Regions from separate parts of the Homo sapiens genome. Here region 1 is linked to region 2. The links are contacts of gene promoters, found by promoter capture Hi-C in human tissues and cell types (Jung and others, 2019). All regions are on one chromosome and are shown on one strand. Each heading gives the region's core, a stretch centred on a gene start or on the middle of the fragment in contact. The rest is flanking DNA. Distances are from core to core; before and after follow the strand shown.

Region 1 (2,821 bases), core at 209-2,708, 510 kb before region 2:
AAGACAGCAGGGGAGGCGGGCTTGTGGCCTGGGGGTCTGAGAGGGCTCTTCCTTTTAGGGAGTAGAGTTTTGGTGAACTAAGCCCCTCCATTACGCTGAAGGATACTGAGGGGGCCACTGAGGAGTTGGGGGAAGGACTGGGAACAGCATGTGGGAAGAGAGAGCAAGAAAGAAAGAAATGAGGGGGTGGCTGTCGTAGTGGGGGAAGCTGACATGGCCAAGAGATGGCAGAGTCTGAGGTTTACCACTAAAGAGCTCTTGGCTACTTGTTGTGTGACTCTGGATGAGCTGCTAATAATAAAATCCACCACACAGGCTTATTGTGAAGACTAAATGAGATAAAGTTTATGAAGCCCCTAGCACAGTGCCAGACACAGCAAGAAAGCTGTTTGTAAAGGTGGCTATTTACTCTGTTCCTTGGACAATTCCAGCTGGAACCCTGTTACTTTATCTTCTATTCTGGGCATGTATAATGCAGAATTATCAGTTGTAAGCTACAAAAACCATTTCAGGAGGAGTTAAGCAGAAGGAATTTGTTTAAAAGATGTTAGAAAAGCTCGCAGGAGGTCTGAGAAGGCTGGAGAGCAAGGCTTGGAGAATAGGATGGATCAAGGGAGGCTGGAAGTAGACAGGACCATGGCCAAATATCACACCCCAGGACCAGCCCTGCACAGATTCTGCAGCCTCCCCTGAACCCCCTTCTTTCCTTCACTGCCCTGGAAGCCGGATGTGGTACCACAGCCTTTGTTGTAGAGAGGAGTTTCCACAGACCTGCCACCTCAGGACCAGTGGCTTTTTTTATTGTATTTTATTTTATTTTGAGATGGAGCCTCACTCTGTTGCCCAGCCTGGAGTGTAGCAGAGCCATCTCAGCTCACTGCAACCTCCGCCTCCCGGGTTCAAGCAATTCTCCTGCCTCAGTCTCCCAAGTAGCTGGAAATACAGGCACGTGCCACCACACTTGGCTAATTTTTGTATTTTTGTAGAGATGGGGTCCCACCATGTTGGCCAGGCTGGTCTTGAACTCCTGACCTCAAGTGATCTGCCCGCCTCGGCCTCCCAAAGTCCTGGGATTACAGGCGTGAGCCACTGCGCTCAGCCAGTGGCACTAGCTTCTGATCTGCTAGTCTACTGGGCTGCAGTGGAGATTAATGGCTGCTTGGGGCTTTTGTACCCTGGGCCAGACTCACGCACACCAGAATTTGTGTGAGGCCACAGGGGTTATGCCTCTTCTCATGCTCACAAGACTCGGCTTGGCAAGGAAATGTCCCAGGAGGTGGGCTAAGACAGACTCCCTCAGGTTCCCACATGGAGCAGCCTCTGCCTGCCAAGCCCTTCCTTGCTCTCGTCTCCCAGATCATCTGTCTTGTCAGCCTCCATGCCCTGTGATGTCACAGGCCTAAATGTGATGTCACTTTGTCCCACATGCCCTGGGGAGGTAGCACAAAGGGAGGACCATGGTCTTCTAACTGAGGAACCTGAGCAGATGCCTTGACCCAGACCAGAGACCCAAGCCAAGGAAAGCCCATGATCACCAGAGTAGGTTGGGAAGTGCGGATAGAGGGGAAGTAGTTTTTATTTTTTTCTAACAGAGAAGTTGTGCAAGGTGTTCTGAGAGTTGGGAGCAGAGTGTGATGCCAGGAGAGGGCAGAGCTGGCAGATGGAAGCCAAAGGTGTGCGGGTCACCCCTTCTGGGTGGGGACATCTGATCGACCTAGTCCATGTATGCCTGCATGAAGTGCTGGTGAGGGAGGTTGGAATTAAGTATTTGGCCATTTCGGCTTTTATAATGGGAGGTACCTTTTGCCTCCCTCAAGACTCATGTAGGGGAAAAGTTTCAGAGGCTGGGCGTCCAAAAAAACCTGACAGATGTCTACATGGAAAACCAAAATGAGTAGACAGAGGACCCTGTCCTTGAGATGCTCACAAACATGTTGGGATCAGTTATGTGGAGGATGAGTCACAGCCCTAGGGGCTGAGCTGGCAGAGAAACCCCAGGAACATGCCCCAGCCCATGGTGCACAGCCTGAGATGTCCCTGTATATTCTGGGACACCAGGGTGGCGTGGCTGGGGTGCAGATTGATGGCTGGTTGGGGCTTTTGCACCCTGGGCCAGACTCACGCACACCAGAATTTGTGTAAGGCCGCAGGGGTGATGCCTCTTCTCATGCTCACAAGAATAATGACATTGCTCAGGCTAAAAAGCCACTTTCTGGCCTATGAGGTCTCCCTTTTTGTATCTAGACATGTCTTTTCCTTATTTATTAACTTTTTTTAAGACAGGGTCTCGCTCTGTCACCCAGGCTGGAGTGCAGTGGCATGATCTCAGCTCACTGCAGTCTCGACCTCCCTGGCTCAAGTGATCCTCCCACCTCAGCCTCCTGAGTAGCTGGAACAACAGGCATGCGCTACCATGCCTGGCTAATTTTTGTATTTTTTGTAGAGATGGTGTTTCACCATGTTGCTCATGCTGGTCTTGAACTCCTGGGCTCAAGCAGTTGGCCCACCTCAGCCTCCCAAAGTGCTGGGATTACAGATGTGAGCCACCACACCTGGCCTAGTCATGCCTTACACCCATTTTGCTATGTCTATTTTTTTTTTTTTTAAAGAGACAGGGTCTTTCTCTGTCACCCAGGCTAGAGTGCAGTGGCAATATCCTAGTTCACTGCAGCCTTATATTCCTGGGCTCAAGTGATCCTCCTGCCTCAGCCTCCTGAGTAGCTGGGACCAGAGGTGCAAGTCACCATGCCCAGCTAAGTTTTGTATTTTTTGTAGAGATGAGGTCTTGCTTTGTTGCCCAGGCTGATCTCAAACTCCTGGG
Region 2 (2,920 bases), core at 41-2,540:
ACTAAAAATACAAAAATTAGCCAGGCGTGGTGGCACACACCTGTAGTCCCAGCTACTTGGGAGGCTGAGGTGGCAGGATCGCTTGAGCCCAAGAGGTTGAGGCTGCAGTGAGCTGAGACTGTGCCACTGTACCCGAGCCTGGGTGACAAAGCGAGATGGCTCTGTCCACCATGAAGACAGGCTCTGGCTGCAGAGATGGTTGAGGTTCCTGGCTGACCTGCTGCAGACTGGGCAAGAGGTGGCTGAGCTTCTATCCTCCCTCCACCAAAAAAAAAAAATTACAAAATTTTTGGCCGGGCGCGGTGGCTCATGCCTGTAATCCCAGCACTTTGGGAGGCTGAGGCAGGCGTATCACGAGGTCAGGAGTTCGAGACCAGCCTGGCCAATGGTGAAACCCCGTCTCTACTAAAAATACAAAAATTAGCTGGGTGTGGTGGCGTGCGCCTGTACTTCCAGCTACTAGGGAGGCTGAGACAGAAGAACCGCTTGAACCCAGGAGGCGGGGCTGCAGTGAGCCGAGATAGCGCCACTGCACTCCAGCCTGGGCGACAGTGAGACTCCGTCTCAAAAAAAAATTTTTTTTACATATACAATATGTAAACATTACGTATAATGTACATATATTCCATCTATGGAGATTGTGGTTAGGGACGGAAGGATGGGTGGGGGTGCCAACATTTTTGCATTTCCAAGGGGTTTTCTGAATTCACAAAGTACTTTCACAACCTCATTTGATCCTCTTTAAAATCCAAGGCACAGTAAACGGTGAAAGCAGGACTGAAATCTAGTTCCTGACCCCAAATTTTAACCTCTTCAAAATCCTCTCCCATGTGGCTTCGTAGTTACGCTTACATTAAAAAAAAAAAATTACCAAAGTTGTTCGCACACTCGAGTGTCTGGTAACCACTTAGGTCGAGGACCCCTGGTCTGGAGTCGACGGGCCTGATCTCGGCTCAGCCACTTCCTTCTGGGGGTGATCGCGAAGATTCAGCGATGACACGAACAAATTCCTAAGCCCGGGAAATACTGTAAGAAATTTTCAATACAGCAAAAAGAAAATGTACATTTCTGAGGCTGTCGAGAACCGTTCACACAGCAGCTTCCGAATCCGCTCTTGAAAGAGCGGATCAGAAAGAACACGCACTCCTCCGCGCAGGGAAATATGCCGCACGCACTCAAGGGACCGGCCGCGAAAGTTAGTGCGTGGGCGGGGCACAGCGAAGGGGGCCAGGGCCTTGCCGGGGCGGGGCTGGCGCCCGGGGCGGTCGCGACGTAGCCCCGCCCCCAGCGTTGGCGCGAGATCCGAACGTCGGCGGCCGCGGTTCTGGCGTTCCCTGAGGCGCCGGGAGCCTGCGCCGGCGTCCTGCCGGCTTCGTCTCCTCAGCGGCCATGAGGCGGACAGGCCCCGAGGAGGAGGCCTGCGGCGTGTGGCTGGACGCGGCGGCGCTGAAGAGGCGGAAAGTGCAGGTGGGACGCTGGGGGATGAGAGGGCGTTGGGAACCAGGTAGGGCCTGGAGGCGTAAGACGGGAGGAGTTTGGGGGACACCTGGAGATGATGAAAGCGAAGTCGGGGACAGAGAAGGGAACAGCGTTGGGGATTCACAGGCGAGAGGGATTGTGGTCTGAAGAAGGTTGAAAAACGGGGCTTGGGGAGGATGGGAGGGACGGAAGGAAAGAGCGTGCTGTTGGGGGGTCTGGAGGAGCGGTGCGCAGGGAGGGGCGGCGAAGGTTCAGGTGTGGGAGAGGCGGAGGGAAAGTTCGCTCGGAGCAGTTGAACTGACCAGGCTCCCTAGGAGGCCACAGTCCCTGCGAGACGTCCTAGTAGAGGCTGGAGCATTGGGAGATGGATGCGAATGCAAATTGGGGAAATTCTCACCCCGGGGTCTGTTTCCACCCAATTTGCCAAGTTGCAGGCCAACTACCTGCCCAGAACCGGTAACTTTGAGGGGAAAAGTAGAAGCTATGGGAAGGGGAGCTGGCCTCCTATGTACTGAGCAGTCACTGGGTGCCGGATACTGCATTAGATACTGAATATGCGTTATATGTGTCGTCATTCTTGCTGGGAATGAGGAAACTGAGGTTCAGTAACTAACCTAGGCCCGCCTAACTAGAAGGAGCTGGAAATCACATTCAGGTCTGTCACCTAGGCAAGATGCTCTTCAGTCACTGTAAAGAAACAAAAGTGCGACATAATAATCATTCATGTTTATTGAGCATTTTATGCTGGTGCTAAGTGTTTTAGGTATGTTACCTTGTTTGGTACAATTCTATATGGTAGATAGTGTAATGATACCCATTTTACATACGGAAAACAGGCTCAAAACAGACACTAGGGGCAAGATTCTTGCTCTCAGGTTGCTCACAGTCTTATAGGGAAGAAAAGAGGTGTATAAATAATAACAACAATACCTAACCTTTATTGAGTGCTTTCTATGTGTCAGGCATTTTGCCGAGACTTTATACACTTTATCAATGGCAGGTACTCACCAAAATTCAGTAAAGTAGATTTTGTCATTATCCTGGTTTTATAGATAAGAAATTTGATCATTTTATTATTATTATTTATTATTATTATTTTTTGAGATGGAGTCTTGCTCTGTCGCCCAGGCTGGAGTGCAGTGACACAATCTCAGTTCCCTGCAAGCCCCACCTCCGGGGTTCACGCCATTCTCCTGCCTCAGCCTCCTGAGTAGCTGGGACTACAGGCGGCCACCACCACGCCCGGCTAATTTTTTGTATTTTTAGTAGAGACAGGTTTTCACCGTGTTAGCCAGGATGGTCTCGCTCTCCTGACCTCGTGATCTGCCCGCCTCAGCCTCCCAGAGTGCTGGGATTACAGGCGTGAGCCACTGCGCCCGGCATATTATTATTATTGTTATTTTTGAGATGGAGTTTCACTCTTGTTGCTCGTGCTGGAGTG

Evidence for each region. The method cuts DNA at HindIII sites, captures the fragments that hold promoters and counts their contacts. A contact is called where the count stands out against the background at its distance.
Region 1: the fragment with the promoter of ZNF683 here is called in contact with the fragment with the promoter of AUNIP in region 2 in 1 of the 25 tissues and cell types used here (adrenal gland).

What each region holds. Positions count from the first base shown.
Region 1 is chr1:26,371,387-26,374,207 of GRCh38, reverse strand. It overlaps ZNF683 (zinc finger protein 683), which reads left to right and starts at 1,458. Exons shown (of 6, transcript NM_001114759.3): 1 at 1,458-1,539. The HindIII fragment of the contact is 13,714 bases long and covers 1-2,821 here.
Region 2 is chr1:25,857,827-25,860,746 of GRCh38, reverse strand. AUNIP (aurora kinase A and ninein interacting protein) reads left to right here and starts at 1,290. Exons shown (of 3, transcript NM_024037.3): 1 at 1,290-1,467. The coding sequence starts at 1,390. RefSeq lists silencers at 473-532, 1,133-1,392 and enhancers at 384-1,009, 883-1,112, 1,010-1,635. The HindIII fragment of the contact is 14,334 bases long and covers 1-2,920 here.